Linked DNA regions of Homo sapiens: region 1 is linked to region 2. Evidence: promoter capture Hi-C in human tissues and cell types (Jung and others, 2019). All regions are on one chromosome and are shown on one strand. Each heading gives the region's core, a stretch centred on a gene start or on the middle of the fragment in contact. The rest is flanking DNA. Distances are from core to core; before and after follow the strand shown.

Evidence for each region. The method cuts DNA at HindIII sites, captures the fragments that hold promoters and counts their contacts. A contact is called where the count stands out against the background at its distance.
Region 1: a fragment that was not itself captured here is called in contact with the fragment with the promoter of SCGB2A1 in region 2 in 1 of the 25 tissues and cell types used here (stomach).

The regions. Positions count from the first base shown.
Region 1 is chr11:62,157,100-62,161,578 of GRCh38, reverse strand. No RefSeq gene overlaps it. Among named protein-coding and RNA genes, the nearest start is that of SCGB1D1, 31 kb to the left of the region's middle. The HindIII fragment of the contact is 4,857 bases long and covers 325-4,479 here.
Region 2 is chr11:62,205,712-62,210,447 of GRCh38, reverse strand. SCGB2A1 (secretoglobin family 2A member 1) reads right to left here and starts at 1,775. Exons shown (of 3, transcript NM_002407.3): 1 at 1,662-1,775; 2 at 1-35. The coding sequence starts at 1,716. The HindIII fragment of the contact is 8,670 bases long and covers 1-3,442 here.

The DNA.
Region 1 (4,479 bases), core at 1,504-4,003, 50 kb after region 2:
TATATATCTGTTTTGGTACCAGTACCATGCTGTTTTGGTTACTGTAGCCTTGTACTATAGTTTGAAGTCAGGTAGTGTGATGGCTCCAGCTTTGTTCTTTTTGCTTAGGATTGTCTTGGCCATGCGGGCTCTTTCTTGGTTCCATATGAGATTTAAAGTAGTTTTTTCCAATTCTGTGAAGAAAGTCAATGGCGGCTTGATGGGGATAGCATTGAATCTATAAATTACTTTGGGCAGTATGGCAATTTTCACGATATTGATTCTTTCTATCCATGAACATGGAATGTTTTTCTATTTATTTGTGTCCTTTCTTATTTCCTTGAGCAGTGGTTTGTAGTTCTCCTTGAAAAGGTCCTTCACATCCCTTGTAAGTTGTATTCCTAGGTATTTTATTCTCTTTGTAGCAATTGTGAACAGGAGTTCACTCATGACTTGGCTCTCTGTTTATTATTGGTGTATAGGAATGCTTGTGATTTTTGCACATTGATTTTGTATCCTGAGACTTTGCTGAAGTTGCTTATCAGCTTAAGGAGATTTTGGGCTGAGATGGTGGAGTTTTCTAAATATACAATCATGTCATCTGCAAACAGAGACAATTTGACTTCCTCTTTTCATATTTGAATACACTTTATTTCTTTCCCTTGCCTGATTGGCCTGGCCAGAACTTCCAATACTATGTTGAATAGGAGTGGTGAGAGAGGGCATCCTTGTCTTGTGGTGGTTTTCAAAAGGAATGCTTCCAATTTTTGCCCATTCAGTATGATATTGGCTGTGGGTTTGTCATAAATAGCTCTTATTATTTTGAGATATGTTCCATCAATACCTAGTTTATTGAGAGTTTTTAGCATGAAGGGTGTTGAATTTTGTCGAATGCCTTTTCTGCATCTATTGAGATAATCGTGGTTTTTGTCATTGGTTCTGTTTATGTGATGAATTACCTTGATTGATTTGCTTATGTTGAACCAGGCTTGCATCCCAGGGATGAAGCCAACTTGATCATGGTGGATAAGCTTTTTGATGTGCTTCTGGATTCAGTTTGCCAGTATTTTATTGAAGATTTTCACATCAATGTTCATCAGGAATATTGGCCCGAAATTTTCTATTTTTGTTGTGTCTCTGCCAGGTTTTGGTATCAGGATAATGCTGGCCTCATAAAATGAATCAGGGAGGATTCCCTCTTTTTCTATTGTTTGGAATACTTTCAGAAGGAATGGTACCTTCTACCAGAATTCGGCTGTGTACCTCTGGTAGAATTCGGCTGTGAATCCATCTGGTCCTGAACTTTTTTTGGTTGGTAGGCTATTAATTGCTGCCTCAATTTCAGAACTTGTTATTGGTCTATTTAGGGATTCGACTTCTTCCTGGTTTAGACTTGGGAGGGTGTATGTGTCCAGGAATTTATCCATTTCTTCTAGATTTTCTAGTTTATTTGGGTAGAGGTATTTATAGTATTCTCTGATGGTAGTTTGTATTTCTGTAGGATCCTCTTTATCATTTTTTATTGCGTGTATTTGATTCTTCTCTCTTTTCTTCTTTATTAGTCTGGCTAGTCGTCTATCTATTTTGTTGATCTTTTCACAAAACCGACTCCGGATTCATTGATTTTTTTCGAAGGGTTTTTTGTGTCTCTATCTCCTTCAGTTCTGCTCTGATCTTAGTTATGTCTTGTCTTCTGCTAGCTTTTGATTTGTTTGCTCTTGCTTCTCTAGTTCTTTTAATTGTGATGTTTCAGTGTCGATATTAGATCTTTCCTGCTTTCTCTTGTGGGCATTTAGTTCTGTAAATTTCCCTCTACACACTGCTTTAAATGTATCCCAGAGATTCTGGTACATTGTGTCATTCTCATTGGTTTCAAAGAACATCTTTATTTCTGCCTTCATTTCATTACTCAGTAGTCTTTCAGGAGCAGGTTGTTCAGTTTCCATGTAGTTGTGCAGTTTTTAGTGAGTTTTATTAATCTGAGTTCTAATTTGATTGCACTGTGGTCTGAGAGACTGTTACGATTTCCATTCTTTTGCATTTGCTGAGGAGTGTTTTACTTCCAATTATGTGATCAGTTTTAGTATAAGTGTGATGAGGTGCTGAGAAGAGTGTATATTCTGTTGATTTGGGGTGGAGAGTTCTGTAGATGTCTATAAGGTCCACTTGGTCCAGAGCTGAGTTCAAGTCCTGAATATCCTTGTTAATTTTCTTCTCATTGATCTATCTAATATTGACAGTGGGGTGCTAAAGTCTCCCATTCTTATTGTGTGGGAGTCTAAGTCTCTCTGTATGTCTCTAAGAACTTGCTTTATGAATCTGAGTGTTCCTGTATTGGGTGCATTTATATTTAGGGTAGTTAGCACTTCTTGTTGCATTGATCCCTTTACCACTATGTAATGCCCTTGTCTCTTTTGATCTTTGTTGGTTTAAAGTCTGTTTTATCAGAGACTAAGATTGCAACCCCTGCTTTTTTTTGCTTAGCATTTGCTTGGTAAATATTCCTCCATCCCTTTATTTTGAGCCTATGTGTGTCTTTGCACGTTAAATGGGTCTCCTGAATACAGCACACCGATGGATCTTGACTCTTTATCCAATTTGCCAGTCTGTGTCTTTTAATTGGGGCATTCAGCCCATTTACATTTAAGGTTAATATTGTTATGTGTGAATTTGATCCTGTCAAATTTGATGCTAGCTGGTTATTTTGCCTGTTAGTTGTGAATTTTCTTCATAGTGTTGATGGTCTTTACAATTTGGTATGTTTTTGCAGTGGCTGGTACCAGTTGTACCTTTCAGTGTTTAGTGCTTCCTTCAGGAGCTCTTGTAAAGCAGGCCTGGTGGGGACAAAATCTCTCTGCATTTGCTTGTCTGTAAAGGATTTTATTTCTCCTTCTCTTATGAAACTTAGTTTGGCTGGATATGAAATTCTGGGTTGAAAATTCTTTTAAGAATGTTGAATATTGGCCCCCCACTCTCTTCTGGCCTGTAGGGTTTCTGCAGAGAGATCCACTGTTAGTCTGATGGGCCTCCCTTTGTGGGTAACCTGACCTTTCTCTCTGGCTGCCCTTAACATTTTTTCCTTCATTTCCACCTTGGTGAATCTGACGATTATGTGTCTTGGGGTTGCTCAAGGAGTATCTTTGTGGTATTCTCTGTATTTCTTGAATTTGAATGTTGGCCTGTCTTGCTAGGTTGGGGAAGTTCTCCTGGATAATATCCTGAAGAGTGTTTTCCAACTTGGTTCCATTCTCCCTGTCACTTTCATGTTCACCAATGCTCTGTGGTGGCTGGGACCCACCAAGCCAAACCACTTGGCTCCCTGGCTTCAGCCCCTTTCCAGGGCAGTAATGGTTCTGTCTCACTGGCGTTCCAGGCACCACTGGGTTATGGGAAAAAAAAATTCCTGCTGCTAGCTCAGTGTCTGCCCAAATGGTCACCCAGTTTTGTGCTTGAAACCCAGGGCCCTGATGGCGTAGGATTGGAGGGGATCTCCTGTTCTGCAGGTTACAAAGACATTGGGAAAAGTGCAGTATCTGGGCTGGAGTGCACTGTTCCTCAGGCACAGTCCCTCACGGCTTCCCTTGGGTAGGGAGAGAATTCCGACCCCTTGCACTTCCCAGGTGAGGCAACGCCCCACCCTGCTTTGGCTCGCCCTCTGTGGGCTGCACCCACTGTCCAACCAGTCCCAGTGAGGTGAACTGGGTACCTCAGTTGGAAATGCAGAGATCACCTGCCTTATGCCTCAATCTCACTGGGAGCTGCAGACTAGAGAGGTTCCTGTTTGGCCATCTTCCCAGCAATCCGTTTTCTTCTAGGAGTGTTGTATTTTTAGCTCTTACATTTAGGCCTATGATCCATTAGGAATTAAACCTGATATATGGTGTTAAGAAGGGCTGGAGCTTTTTAAAAACGTATCCAGTTGTTCCACGACAATTTGTTGAAAAAATTATGCTGCCCCCATTGAATTGCCTTTCCACCTTTGCCAAAACCAAGTGATTATATATGTGTAGTTCTATTTCTGGATTCCATAAAATTTCATGTATCTATGACTACCTTTATACCAATATACTATCCTGATTCTTGTAGCTTTGAGAACTAGGCAGCCGCTTGGGCTGACACTGGATCCATCACTGAAGGGGGTCCACCGAACCACAAGCATGTAGCCACAAGCGCAATCCCAGATGAGCCCCCAAATTTGTAACTGCCCAAGGGATTCACCTTGCCCGCTGCCTAGACAGAGCCTATTCATCAAGACAGGGGAATCAAAATAAAGAAAGAGTAATTCATGCAGAGCCAGCTGTGCGGGAGATCGGAGTTTTATTATTACTCAAATCAATCTCCTCCTGTAGCTTTGAAGTGAGCCTTGCAGGTAGTGTGACCTCTCCAAATTTGTTATTTTTAAGTTGTTTTAGCTATTGTAGGTCCTATGCTGTTAAATACAATTTTTGAGACAGGGTCTTGCTGTGTCACCCAGGCCGGAGAGCAGTGACACAATCACTG
Region 2 (4,736 bases), core at 526-3,025:
TTCAACCATGTCCTCCAGGAGTTTGCAGCCAGAATCTGGAAAAAAAAAAAAAAAAAAAAAAGACACAAGAACATGGGCCATTACTAGAGGTGTGATTCATTCTACAGATGAATTGGGAAGCTGGCTATCTTCGTACCTCCAGGGACAGACCGAGGTTCAGAAAGATTTTGGTGCAGTATGCAGAGTTCTCAATTCTGGGAGTGTAAACTCAGGCTCTGCAAATTCTCTCTGACCTTCCAAACCCAGAGAAGCCCAACCCTGTGTATTCTTGGTGAAGAGGACCCTCGAGAAATGAGGTGTTCTGACTGGGGGGACATAGCAAACACTACTTGGACTTTCTTGGTTCAAAGTCATGCAATGCTTCCCTGTTATCATGCCCAGCATCAGGTAGGGTTTCCAAGGATTTCAGATGAATGGGTCTAGGACATTGTCCATTAGTTCTGTTGACTCTACTGCAATAAAAGGGAATGTGTGGCCAGGTATGGTGGCTCACGCCTGTAATCCCAGCACTTAGGGAGGCCAAGGCAGGCGAATTGCTTGAGCTCAGGAGTTTAAGACCAGCCTGGACAACACAGGGAGACCTCATCTCTACAAAAAATTTAAAAATTAGCCAGGCATAGTGGTGTCCACCTGTAGTCCCAGCTACTCGGGAGGCTGAGGCAGGAGCATTACTTGAGCCTTCGAGGAAGAGGTTGCAGTGAGCTGAGACTGTGCCATTGCACACCAGTCCCAGTCCCAGCCTGGGTGACAGAGCAAGACCCTGTCTCAAACACACACACACACACACACACACACACACACACACACACACATGAATGTGAAATAGAGCTTGTTCATGAGGGGATCTGAGGTCACCTCCCACTGTAAGGGAGAGGAACGAGCTCAGGACGTGGCTTCATGTGAGCTGGTTGTGCTCTGGACTTTGTGATTTTCCAGTTAGTTGACTGTGAGCTTGTCACCCTTCTACACATCTGCACCTACCTTGGATGCCAATACGGTAGGGTTTGGAATCCACCTTTGTGAACTGCACAAGGCAGGCTACCTATGGAAATATTAGCGCTGATTCCAGCAGCCGGGGCTTTTTCCTCCCACTGAATCTTTAGTGCTGGAAGGAGACTCCAGGGGTTGTGAGTTCTCACCTGTCTGCCTTGAGCCTGAAGCAACTGGGAGGGTAAGGGCATCCCAGAAGGACCCAGATCAACTCTGAGAACACAGAGTGAGCCACACAGGGTGAGAGACACTGGGTCACACTCTGCAGCCTGGGCCTTCTGTCCTGGGAGGTTTCCTATTTCGTTCCATATTCAAGGAGACCCATGATTATTTCCTGATTTCTAGGTGTAGATGCCATCTCTCCCTTGCCCCACTGAAATAGTTCATTTCAATATTTAATCCTGAGACTCATCCTGGTTTCTATGGTCACCGTGACCATGGTGAGACGCTGAGTGCCATGATACACTGTGTGCAGCTCCAATGCAGGGGACAGCCCATGAGGACACTGCATGCTTGATTGTCAGGAACTCATGGGGATCCTAAGGCCTATCGCACCCAGGCCCTTCACACTGGGGCTCGTCTGTGCTGGGGATTAGAGGTTGGGAGTTCTTCTACAGGGGCCCAGGTGACAATTCCTAGCCCAGAAGCAGCCCTCTCTGCCCAGAACTCACCTGCATAGCAGTGCAGGAGGAGGGCCGCCAGCATGAGGACCATCAGCAGCTTCATGGCGAGGCGGCTGCTGTCTGTGTTCAGTCGTGCGTGGCAGGGATCAAGGAAGTTGCTGTGGAGGTGAGTACCCAGCCCTGCTCTATTTATTCCCCAGGGAGGCACCTTAGTCCCTCCCAGGAATGAGGCAATGTGTCAACCTGGCATGGGACCAGGACACAATAGTGTACACCAATGGGAACACAGCCAGCCTGTGCTCTGTTTGTAGAAACCAAGAAGGCAGTAATATTTGGATCCCTGACAATCTGGGGACTACAATAATGATACATGGCTTTTAGTAAAATGGATGTGACAGTGTTTTCCAAAATATAAAGCAAAACCCAGTGGCGTGATCTTGTGGTCTCAACAATGTTGTTATTATTGTAGTTTTCTTCTAGTCCTCCTTCCCTTCTTCCTCCTCCTCCTTCTATTCTTTTTCTTCTATTCCTCTTGGTCTCCTCCTCTTCTCGTTATTCTTCAAGGTACAAACAGTTTCATAACTTGTGTATCTGCCGGTCCTGGAATCATCAAATATTTGGGCTATGTGCAATACCTGCATCTTCCTATGGGAGGCAGACCTTCCTAATCCATAGACATTTCTTTTTCAGAAAAGCGGGTTTTTTTGTTTTTGTTTTTTGGGGTTTTGTTGCTGTTGTTGTTGTTGTTTTGAGACAGAGTCTCACTCTATTGCCCAGGCTGGAGTGCAGTGGTGCGATCTTGGCTCACTGCAGCCTCCGCCTCCCGGGTTCCAGAAATTCTCCTGCCTCAGCCTCCTGGGTAGCTGGGATTACAGGCATGCGCCAGGACACCTGGCTAATTTTTGTATTTTTAGTAGAGACAGGGTTTCACCATTTTGGCCAGGCTGGTCTCGAACTTCTGACCTCAGGAGATCCACCTCACTCAGCCTCCCAAAGTGCTGGGATTACAGGCGTGAGCCACCATGCCCAGCCCCGAAAAGTGCTTTAAGTTTTGGGGAAAACATTAATATCTAACCTCTACTGAAAGCTTCTTGTTATTCTTGTTAAGAATTACAACACTAAGTTAATTCAACTTTACAAATTTATTTTACAATATATTTATAATTTAATTTGTGCTTAGTTCTTTGTTAGCCTTTTACGGTTTTCTATCCACTGACTGAGAGGATGCTGTGAGTGAGTGGAGTAACTGACTGCTTGGGCAGGCAGTGCTAGGCAGTGGGTGGCAATGGGGTTGGGTGATGATGAGATTTAGGTGATAAGATTTGGGCAGGTGTGGGTGTGGATCCTGGAGGCCACACGTACTCATGCTGTGTCTTTGGGCAAATTACAATGCTGGTCCCTCTGGGCTTCCTTTCTGTCTTTGTGAAACGGGTATAAGTGATGCTGAATTTTTTTTTTTTTCGAGACAGAGTCTTGCCCTGTTGCCCAGGCTGGAGTTCAGTGGCACGATCTTGGCTCACTGCAACCTCCGCCTCCCGAGTTCAAGCGATTCTCCTGCCTCAACCTTCTGAGTAGCTGGGATTACAGGCATGTGGCACGAGGCCCGGCTAATTTTCGTATTTTTAGTAGAGACGGAGTTTCTCCATGTTGGCCAGGCTGGTCTCGAACTCCTGACCTCAGGTGATCCACCCACCTCGGCCTCCCAAAGTGCTGAGATTACAGGTGTGAGCCACCGTGCCCGCCTGGCCGTGAATTTTTGTAAAGATGAGAGATACTCTGTAAATTTTTTTTTTTGAGATGGAGTCTCACTCTTATTGCCCAGGCTGGAGTGCAGTGGCGTGATCTCAACTCACTGCAACCTCAGCCTTCCCGGGTTCAAGCGATTATCCTGCCTCAGTCTCCTGAGTAGCTGGGATTACAGGTGTGCACCACCACGCCCAGCTAATTTTTATTTATTTATTTATTTATTTATTTATTTATTTATTTATTTATTTTGTATTTTTAGTAGAGATGGGGGTTTCACCATGTTGGCCAGGCTGGTCTCAAACTCCTGACCTCGTGATCCACCCACCTTGGCCTCCCAAAGTGCTGGGATTATAGGTTTGAGCCACCGCTCCCGGCCGACGCTCTGTAAATTTTTAATCACGCAGCCAAGCATGAGATAATTCTGAATAAATGGCAGTTGCATTCATGCGTGGATCCCTTGTTGTACGCATCACTGTTTTGCTTCTCCTGTGAGCTGGGCCTTGCACTAGATTCAGTTATAGAAACAGGTTAGACCAGGTGCTTGCTCCTGTGGACCTTATTTTCTAATGAAGGACACAAAGAACAAGACTAAAGATATATCAGAGGTATGAGAAAGTGGTCATTGCTGCAAAGAACAACAAAATATTCACAACAGCTGAATGCTGTCATAGATGGCCTGCCCAGGGGCAGTGGCCTGTAAGCCCCCCAAGGCAGCCTGTAGGAGCAGGTGCTGTTTCAGCTGAGACTTGGATGAGTGGATGGTGATGTCCAAGGACACATCTGGGGAAGAGAATTCCAGGGAGAGGGAACTGCAAGTACAGAAGCTTGAGGACAGATGGCACTGGCAAGGTAAGGAAGGGAAGGAACGTGGCCACATAGAATCAGGAAAAGGACGGGACAGCCTCACATGATAGAAAGCCCATCCCTGTTTAATTAGGGGCACAGTGAAGGTCATAGGAACAAGAAAAACAAAGTTGGCTCAGGTAAAAAAAGAAAAAAGAAAAAAAAAGAAGTCGATGAAACAGCCAGAGGAATGAATCCATTGTTAATTCCCTGTGAATGCATTGTTTTCTCTCTGGATTACTTGCGACATGTTTCTTTCCACCATTCAGGTGGAGCCTCAGTGGCCAAGAACAAACCTAATTTTGGGGAGGACAGAAAGGAGAAGTGTTGTTTACTTACCACTGTACACAGCTGACCCTGGCTGGTGGCCTTGTTTCCCAAGGGTAGTGAAGGACCTTGATTATGAAATGTGAGAGTGTCTCCTTGGCCAGTACTTATTGGGGCTCTGCCTGGTGCCCCAGTCCTTGTGGCCCTGCCTTGTCAGTCACCTTCTTACACAGAACAGAACTTCAGGAAAGGCCTCTGGTCTTGGAG